3 separate regions of the Homo sapiens genome follow, and all the other regions are linked to region 1. Evidence: promoter capture Hi-C in 16 types of primary human blood cells and fetal thymus (Javierre and others, 2016). All regions are on one chromosome and are shown on one strand. The core of a region is centred on a gene start or on the middle of the fragment in contact, and the rest is flanking DNA. Distances in the headings are between cores, read along the strand shown.

What was found. Contacts are between HindIII fragments. The CHiCAGO score rates a contact against its expected background, and 5 or more counts as called.
Region 2: a fragment that was not itself captured here is called in contact with the fragment with the promoter of SIRT4 in region 1 in 3 of 17 cell types (naive CD8 T cells, non-activated CD4 T cells and naive CD4 T cells); the score reaches 5.6 in naive CD8 T cells.
Region 3: a fragment that was not itself captured here is called in contact with the fragment with the promoter of SIRT4 in region 1 in 1 of 17 cell types (M2 macrophages); the score reaches 5.0 in M2 macrophages.

The regions. Positions count from the first base shown.
Region 1 is chr12:120,300,741-120,303,992 of GRCh38, forward strand. It overlaps SIRT4 (sirtuin 4), which reads left to right and starts at 1,581. Exons shown (of 4, transcript NM_012240.3): 1 at 1,581-1,638; 2 at 2,821-3,252. The coding sequence starts at 2,822. The HindIII fragment of the contact is 5,713 bases long and covers 1,554-3,252 here.
Region 2 is chr12:120,695,657-120,698,908 of GRCh38, forward strand. It overlaps MLEC (malectin), which reads left to right. Exons shown (of 5, transcript NM_014730.4): 5 at 660-3,252. The coding sequence ends at 889. Among named protein-coding and RNA genes, the nearest start is that of MLEC, 10 kb to the left of the region's middle. The HindIII fragment of the contact is 1,687 bases long and covers 669-2,355 here.
Region 3 is chr12:120,560,404-120,563,655 of GRCh38, forward strand. It overlaps RNF10 (ring finger protein 10), which reads left to right. Exons shown (of 17, transcript NM_014868.5): 7 at 323-483; 8 at 2,542-2,667; 9 at 2,944-3,220. Among named protein-coding and RNA genes, the nearest start is that of POP5, 19 kb to the right of the region's middle. The HindIII fragment of the contact is 487 bases long and covers 1,213-1,699 here.

The DNA of each region.
Region 1 (3,252 bases), core at 331-2,830:
CTCAGCCCAATTCATCTTAAAATGGGGGAAGGGAGTCCTTAGGTGGTCTTCAAGGTCCCTGCTGGCCGCCCACCTTTATGTCCAAAGACACTTATACATTTATTGATTTAGGTGATGCTGCAGAGCGGCAGTTCTGGTTGTCTACACATTAGGAACAATTAGGAAATTTGTAGATCAGAATCCCTGGGAGTGAGACGCAGGCCTTGTTTGATTAACTTAATAAAAAAAATATGATAAATAAAATTGGAGAAGCCAAGCAGGTTAAGTACATTAGTCCAGGTATAATATATTTGGCTTCATATTAACTGTAAAAACATCACTTTTGGCTGGGCACAGTGGCTTACGCCTGTAATCCCAGTACTTTGGGAGGCTAGGGTGGGCAGATCACGAGGTCAGGAGATCAAGACCATCCTGGCTAACATGGTGAAACCTTGTCTCTACTAAAAATAAAAAAATTAACCGGGCGTAGTGGCATGCGCCCATAATCCCTGCTACTCAGGAGGCTGAGGCAGGAGAATTGCTTGAACCCGGGAGGCGGAGGTTGCAGTGAGCCGAAATGGCACCATTGCACTCCAGCCTGGGCAACAGAGCGAGACTCCGTCTCAAAAACAAACAAACAAACAACAACAACAACAACAACAAACTATCACTTTTTCAGATATGTATAAACACATTTCTTCACAAGTTCAAGGTATTTTACCAATAGCAAATAACTTGATACTGTCGTTGTGAATGAAAAGGATCACAAACTCTGATGTTTAGAATGAGTCAAATCTAGGCCGGGAACAGTGGCTCAGGCCTGTAATCCCAGCATTTTGGGGGGCCGAGGTTGGCGGATCACCTGAGGTCGGGAGTTCGAGACCAGCCTGGCCAACATGGTGAAACTCTGTCTCTACTAAAAATACAAAAACTTTAAAAAAAAGTCAAATCTAGATCCATGATTAATGACGTGCTCATTTCACATTGCATGTTTGTATCAAAACATCTCATGTGGGTAAAGCATAGACAGGCACAGAGAAAAGAAAAAAAGACAAAAAATAAGAGAAAAGATGGCCGGGCGCAGTGGCTCACGCCTATAATCCCAGCACTTTGGGAGGTCAAGGCGTGCGGATCACCTGAGGTTAGGAGTTCAAGACGAGCCTGGCCAACATGGCGAAACCCCCGTCTCTACTAAAAATACAAAAATAATCCCAGCTACTCGGGAGGCTGAGGCAGGAGAATCGGTTGAACCCGGGAGAGGGAGGTTGCAGTGAGCCGAGATCGTGCCACTGCACTCCAGACTGGAGTTTTTTCAAAAAAAAAAAACAACAACTCCGTCTTAAAAAAAAAAAAGAAAAAAGAAAAAAAATCTTATGTACACTATAAATATATACACCTACTAAGTGCCCACAGAAATTGAAAACAAAGAAAAAAATCCATGATTAAAAGCTTTTATATTAACGGGGGAACCTCTGACCAGAAAGAGCCGACAGGGGGCGTTCCTGGATGATCTGGGGCTGTCAATTGCGAGACGCGGAGGATTGTGGGACTTGTGGTTTTTCTCGCATCATTTAAGCTTTCTGGACTACATGTCCCAAAATGCAAATGCAATCAGACGGTCCCACTGTGGGGTGTGAAGTGTCCGTAGAGCTGTGAGAGGTAAGTGTGTTCTGTGTGTGCTGCGGATTTCTAGAAGTTGTGGATTTCTTGTGAGGGATTCTATTTCTCCTCTTTGCCCTCGGTGGGACCTGGAAGAGAGTAGTTGTTCCACTGATGCACGTTTTCAGCGGGGGTTTCCCCTGACCCTTTGGTCTCGGGAAACCGGACTGTGTGTTTGTTCAGCTGTTCACGTTTTGCTGTGGAATGTCAAGGAGAAAGCGGGGTCCTGATCTCAGATCTGGAAAGCCAAACATAAAATAATGTTTACATACGGGGTGCATGTCACTAGAGGATTTATGCATTGCATTGTGTCAAATAATATGTCAAAGTTTTTTCTTTTTCTTTTTTTTTTTTTTTTTGATACGGAGTCTTGCTTCTTCGCCCAGGCTGGAGTGCAACGGCGCGATCTCGGCTCACTGCAACCTCCGCCTCCCGGGTTCAAGCAATTCTCCTGCCTCAGCCTCCCTAGTAGCTGGGATTACGGGCACGTGCCACAATGCCCGGCTAATTTTTTTTGTATTTTTAGTAGAGTCGGGGTTTCACCATGTTGGCCAGGCATGTCTCGAACTCCTGATCTCAAGTGATCTGCCTGCGTCGGCCTCCCAAAGTGCTGGGATTTCAGACGTGAGCCACCGCACCCGGCCCTCTATTGTTACAGCTAGAAAAGCTGACGGGCAGGGGTCTTGTCTCTCTGATGTGTCCAAGTAGCAGAGCTTGCAGTGGAGGGTAAACTAAAATAAGGGGGAAATGAAAAAATAAAAGGAATGCGTGTGTGTGCTTAATTACATGAACAAAATCAAACAAAACCTGACTCATTAGGGCCAGACTCAGAGGCTCACACCTGTAATTCCAGCACGTTGGGAGGCCGAGGCGGGCAGATCACTAGAGCTCAGGAGTTCGAGACTAGCCTGGCCAACATGGTGAAACCCTGCCTCTACTAAAAATACAATAATTAGCCGGGCATGGTGGCCATGTAGTCCCAGCTATTCTGGAGGCTGAGGCAGGAGAATCACTTGAACCCGGGAGGCGGCGGTTACAGTGAGCCAAGATCATGCCACTGTACTCTAGCCTGGGCAACAGAGGGAGACTCTGTCTCAAAAAACAAAACGAAAACAAACAAACAAAAAATGAGAAAAAAAAAAAACCACCCCAGTTTCTCACATGAGGCTTCTTTTTCTCTAGAATGAAGATGAGCTTTGCGTTGACTTTCAGGTCAGCAAAAGGCCGTTGGATCGCAAACCCCAGCCAGCCGTGCTCGAAAGCCTCCATTGGGTTATTTGTGCCAGCAAGTCCTCCTCTGGACCCTGAGAAGGTCAAAGAGTTACAGCGCTTCATCACCCTTTCCAAGAGACTCCTTGTGATGACTGGGGCAGGAATCTCCACCGAATCGGGGATACCAGACTACAGGTCAGAAAAAGTGGGGCTTTATGCCCGCACTGACCGCAGGCCCATCCAGCATGGTGATTTTGTCCGGAGTGCCCCAATCCGCCAGCGGTACTGGGCGAGAAACTTCGTAGGCTGGCCTCAATTCTCCTCCCACCAGCCTAACCCTGCACACTGGGCTTTGAGCACCTGGGAGAAACTCGGAAAGCTGTACTGGTTGGTGACCCAAAA
Region 2 (3,252 bases), core at 262-2,761, 390 kb after region 1:
GGTTTAGATTCTCCTGGCTGCCAGCATCTCAGGCTGATTTTTGCAGAGAAAGCTGCGTCTTTGTGACATTTCTCCCCCATTCCACCTCTGTACCTTTCCCCAACTCAATCTTGAATGCACTGAGGATTTCATCCTGTTGTCTTGATGTCCCCCAAATGCTGATATTATGACATCTAGGAGGATGAATGTCTTACCACCAAACAGACCTGTGTTCAAGTCCCTGAGGAGGAGGCAGGACAGAGGGATAGTGTGTGCTGGGAACCCAGAACTCTCTGGGTCAACGTTTCTTCAGTTGTTGTGTGAATCAAAAGGGAATGTGGGCTTGTGGGAGGAGGAGGGATTTGAAAAGGCTAAAGTTTAGGCATTGGATCATTGTCCCTGTCCAGTCTGGTTATCTTGGGGCTCTGTAAAAGTAGAACAGGAAGGTAAGATAGTGAACCTCCCTATGAGCACGGCTTTTTCTACTTTCTAGTTAAATCTAAAGCTTTTGCAGCACTCTGCTGTTCTGTAGACCAGAGGCTATTTCTGCTACTTCTGGTCTTTTCTCTGGACCCGGGTTCAATCACAGCAATCTCTTTATTGTGGCTTATTTGCTGCTTTTAAGGGTCTCTCTTACTTAAATGCTGTGGGTCTTAACAGTGTTTTCTTCCTTGTGTTAGATGTACCAAAGCTTCAGCCTCATCCGGGATTGGAGAAGAAAGAAGAGGAAGAAGAAGAAGAAGAATATGATGAAGGGTCTAATCTCAAAAAACAGACCAATAAGAACCGGGTGCAGTCAGGCCCCCGCACACCCAACCCCTATGCCTCGGACAACAGCAGCCTCATGTTTCCCATCCTGGTGGCCTTCGGAGTCTTCATTCCAACCCTCTTCTGCCTCTGCCGGTTGTGAGAACAAATGACTATCCTGAACAGGGTGGAGGGGTGTGGGAAAGAAACCAGCCATATTGGTTTTGGTTTCTGTATTTTTCACAATGATTAATGAACAAAAACAAAGAGAAAAAAACACACATCAATTAAAGGAGACAAAAAGAGGCAGAGCGAGTAGAGAGCAGCCCTCATTCACCACCTGGTCCCAGACGTGCTTCAGTCCTCGTCCTCTCTTTGTGGCTGGCTCCCAGCCTTCTCTTTCCTCTTGAGGATACTTAGGGTAAACTGGATCCTTCCTGCTCAAGGATCCTCATTTGTATACCTAGTGGAAAGGACTCTGAACTCAGAGGAGTCACTGTTCCTTTTTTTAGGTTAGAAATTAACAGCAGGGAAATGCCATCTTATTACCTGAGACGACCAGCACTGGGAGTTAGGTACGGTCTGAAGTTATGTCTAGATAAGACTTCAGACGTCCTGGGATTGAAAGAATGTGTGTGAAGGGGTAGAATTTGTGCGGTAAAGACTTAAAAAAAAAAGTAGGGAGATTAAAAAAAAAGAAAGAAAATGCTTCCTTATCTGGAAGCCTTTCTGGATTAATCCAGTGATGGTCCCACCTTTAGTGTTTGAGCTTTGTCATTGCTTGTCTCCCTGGCATGTGCCAGTTATAGACTGTCCAGCATCCAAGACGTTTCGGTTATGTCGGGTCCTCAGATCGCCTCTGACTTGTTACCACAACAAATCATTTTGATTTCAGTGCCTGTTGGGGACTTGATTTCTTCTCAGTTTTGTTTGTTTGTTTGTTTCCTTAATCTGGCTCATTTGAAATTTCTTCTCCCTCTCAACCATCCCACTAAGTTATAGCCAAGAAGGGAAGGAGACACGGGGATTTGGGGTTCTCTGCTTGAATGTCTTCTCCTTTACCACCTCACCTTGTTGGTACCTCCCTCCCTGGATCTCTGAGCCAGCAGCCAGGAGGACCTGACCCAGCAGTTCTTTACTGGCCCCTTTGTAGGGCCTTGCTGCCAGGGGGCAGGGATGCTTTCCAGCCTGCAGCAACAGAACACTTGACCTTAAAAGTCTCTTCTGGTCTTTGGATTAGAAAAGGCTTATGTTAGCATAGCTTAAGAGCAACCTCAGAGATTTGAGCCCTACTAAGTGACTGACCACTGTTTAGAGTGTCTGGTATCTGATGTTCATTTATTCCCATGTTCTTGTGTGTCACAGTTCAGCCAGTTTTGGTTTATGCCTAGAGCTACTTCAAGGAACTAGACTAATTAGCTATATAGGCCCAGCGATGCTTCTTATTGATCTTAATAGTATGCCCCTCCTTCCCCTGTCCTTTCATTTCTCTATCCAAGTAGCAGTCAGGTTCTTGGTGTGATGGGACTGAAAGAATTCCAGTCAGCCAGAGCCTTGGCAGCTCTGAAGCTAACCTTAGCATCTAAGTGTCGATCTTGAATTCCCTGAAAAAATTTCTATAGGAAATGAAGCTTCCCTGGTCCCCTCCTTTCTGGCCATTGTCATCCATTTCCCAGTTAGGGCAACAATGAAGGAGGACCCAGCCAAGCTAGAAGGAATTTTGTGGATGGGAGACAGCAGGATTAGCTTCAGCTTGGGCTGGAGCAGTCAATATAGGATCTCAGGCCAGGCCCGCTTTTCTAGAATGTGTTTAATTTTGAGTTTGCTTTATTAGATATGTTTTTTAAGAGCTCTGTATATTTGAACTGCTCCTTATGTGACAAAATAGGTAGCTCTTGGGCTCATGTCCTGGGTTTTGGCTCTTTAATGATTACTCCAGGCCAGCATTTAGTCGTTTGAGAATTGTAGCCTGTTGTTTTCGCTGTGACTTGGGTCTCAGTGCTAGGGTATTGAGTCAGGCAGCTGGAGGGTTGTGGCCCGAGGCTGCAGTCAGAGGTATACTTCCCATAGTGCTTCACACAGCTCCCCTGCTTCTAAAGGATAAGGTACTGTAGCCTTGGTCCTGGGGACCACCTGCCTGGGGCAGTGGACATCCTAACTAAACAGGCTTCTGGCAGTAGCTTTGGTTCCTATCCCATCGAAATTCCCCAAAGCCCTGGGCCACTGCCATTGGGTTAGTCAAGATGAAGGAGGAGGACTGGCTGCCTCCATTTTGCCTTGTTTGTTAGTTTGCCTGGGTCTGTCTGAGGAAGGAGGGGGTCCCGCCTTCCACCTCAACACATCCCTTCAGTGACTCAGAGTCTCAGAAGGAAACCCTGACTCCTGGGGCCATTTCCTAATGGTACTGTAAGCCAAGCAGCTTTGCTTCTGCCTCTGTTTCCAAGCCCACCCTTTTCCCCTGAGCTCAGGGTTAGGGATGGGCGCTTTCCTCTCTGGTTGTGAACGAAAGGAAGGAACATCTTTCTA
Region 3 (3,252 bases), core at 206-2,705, 260 kb after region 1:
TTGACCTCCCAAAGTGCTGGGATTACAGGTGTGAGCCATGGTGCCTGGCTGGTTTGAGCTTTTCTGATATTACATACAATGCTGTAACAATAAACGCGTGACTAAAGTTTTGACTACATCTCTGGGTTTCTTAGATTTCTTATATCAAGAGCAGAGCTACAGACCTTATTTTAAGACCATTGTTAAATTATTTTCTAGGAAATCATGCTAAATTACCCCATTTTCACCCCAGAGAAAAGGCTGTATTTGAAAATTCCTATTTAGCTACACCATCGTGAGCTTTGAATGTTGCATTTCTTTGATCTTGCTGGCATTCTTATAGATGAACAGCACAGCCAGTACTCCAAGTTGCTGCTGGCCTCTAAGGAGCAGGTGCTGCACCGGGTAGTTCTGGAGGAGAAAGTAGCACTAGAGCAGCAGCTGGCAGAGGAGAAGCACACTCCCGAGTCCTGCTTTATTGAGGCAGCTATCCAGGAGCTCAAGGTGAGAGGATGCATTGGAGATGCTAAACCTTTTCACTTTCTCGGCGTTCTGTGGTGAAAACCAGAAATGCTAAACCTTTTCACTCTGTCGGGGGTGAGATGATGGACGCTGGGGATTAAGTTAGTTCCATTCCACATTTAAGACAATAAGCAGAGAATGGCTAAAAAAGCCAATTTGTTTTGGGCTTTGTTTGATGACAGTAGAGAAGGTTTAACCTAGGGCTTTTAAAGCTCTTTCTAGAGCTGAAAGGAGCAAGTCAAAATGATTTTATAACTAATTGTGACAGTGGAGTTTTTTAGATTAGCTATGTTCTTAAAGCAAGTTAGAGTTCTTTGTTTTCTGGGAAAATACTTAAGATTCTATTCTAGAGGTGTTTTGAAAGACATTGTGGAGAAAGTATTATGGCCTGCCCAGTATGCCTTAGGAGTACCTGAAACGGCAAGAATTACACAAGAACAGAATTCCCTGGGTCTTTTATCTTCCACAACAGAGATTCTTGAAGCATCACAACCACTGGTTGTTAGGTCCCACTTTGAGATATTGATTGCATAGGTTAAGCTCAGTAGGCTCAGTAATTTGCATATAACAAGTTCTAGGGTGATTCTGATGGCTGCTCATCCCCAGACCACACTCCTGGAACCACTGATCTAGCTTAGAGCAATAGAAGCCCATATTTATTGAGTGATCAGCATTTGATAGGACTTGTGCTATACACATTTATCTCACTTAAGCTTCTAGTGTGGTAGATAGAACTATCCCCTTTCATGGATGAGGAAACTGAATCCTGGGTTGGGTAATTTGCTAGTAAGGGATGCAGCTGGTATTTGAATTCCCTTCTCCCTGACTCCCAAGGGCTCCTTGGGTAGAGTCCTGTGTATTTAACTTTTGCTTTCTTTCTATAATACGTTGCAGCCGTATTTGTTCAAATGCCATTACAGGCATAAGAAAGGCTACATAGAATTAGAGCTGTCCAGGCTGAGGTGGAGTTAGCTAAATCCTTCCTACTACTCTGGACCTCTGTCTGAGCATAGTTTGTAAAAACTAGGTTAGTTTCATGTTCTTAGATTTCTGTTCTGGAAGTTTTTTGTATAGTGTTGTTTGTGTCAGATTCTCTTTTATTTTTTTTAACTTTTAAGTTCAGGGGTACAAATGCAGGTTGTTACATGGTAAACCTGTGTCATGGGGGTTTGTTATACAGATTTTCACCCAGGTATTAAGCTTAGTACCCATTGGTTATTTTTCCTGATCCCCTCCCTCCTCCCACTCTCCACCCTCTGATAGGCCTCAGTGTGTGTTCCCCTCTATGTGTCCATGTTTCATCATTTAGCTCCCACTTAGAAGTGAGAACATGTGTGCGATATTTGGTTTTTCTTTTTCTTTCTTTCTTTTTTTTTTTTTTTTTTTTGAGACAGAGTTTTGCTCTCGTTGCCCAGGCTGGAGTGCAGTGGCGTGATCTCGGCTCATCACAACCTCTGCCTCCAAGGTTCAAGTGATTCTCCTGCCTCAGCCTCCTGAGTAGCAGGAATTACAGGCATGCCCCACCATGCCTGGGTTATTTTGTATTTTTAGTAGAGATGGGGTTTCTCCATGTTGGTCAGGGTGGTCTTGAACTTCCAACCTCAGGTGATCCGCCCACCTCAGTCTCCCAAAGTGCTGGGATTACAGGCATGAGCCACCACACCTGGCCGTATGTGTCTTTACAGTAGAATGATTTATATTCCTTTGGCTATATACCCAGTAATGGGATTGCTGGGTGAAATTTTATTTCTGTCTTTAGGTCTTTGAGGAATCACCACACTGTCTTCCACAATGATTGAACTAATTTACACTCCCCAGTGTCAGATTCTAAGCAGATTCCAATCCTTAGTGGGTATTGCATGCTTTTTGCTTCCTGTTTCCCTCAAAGTTGAGATATTTAAGCACCTAATTCCTTCCCATTGGGTCTCATTGCCTTTTAACTTTTGGTCCTGTTGAGAGGCCATTCTAAGCCCTTGCCCTTCAAGCTAAGTGTGTGTCTGGAAACTTAACCTTCTCTGGTGTTCTCTCTGGCCACGTTAGACTCGGGAAGAGGCTCTGTCGGGATTGGCCGGAAGCAGAAGGGAGGTCACTGGTGTTGTGGCTGCTCTGGAACAACTGGTGCTGATGGCTCCCTTGGCGAAGGAGTCTGTTTTTCAACCCAGGAAGGTTAGTGTGTTCCTGTTACTAAGTGGCTGCCGTTCCTCAAATGCTGTCATTGAGCTGGTAGGCATTACTGTGAGATCTAAACCTTCTCAAGAGAAGAGGGGACAATGAGTATTTTCTGTATGCTTGTTATTAGTTCTTTCCCCAGGGGTGTTAAATCAGTGAACACGACAGCTAAGATAAACATCTAGGGAGCTTGGCTCTTAGGTCTGCATTTGCCACATTGCTTTCGGAAAGCAGGAGATATCCTTTCTGTTGACTTAGAGTTTGCTGCAACAGGGTGTGCTGGAGTATCTGTCTGCCTTCGATGAAGAAACCACGGAAGTTTGTTCTCTGGACACTCCTTCTAGACCTCTTGCTCTCCCTCTGGTAGAAGAGGAGGAAGCAGTGTCTGAACCAGAGCCTGAGGGGTTGCCAGAGGCCTGTGATGACTTGGAGTTAGCAGATGACAATCTTAAAGAGGGGACCATTTGCACTGAGTCCAGCCAGCAGGAACCCATCACCAAGTCAGGCTTCACACGCCTCAGCAGCTCTCCTTGTTACTACTTTTACCAAGGTGAGGGTGCCGGAAGAGAGGGCTGGGTTGCC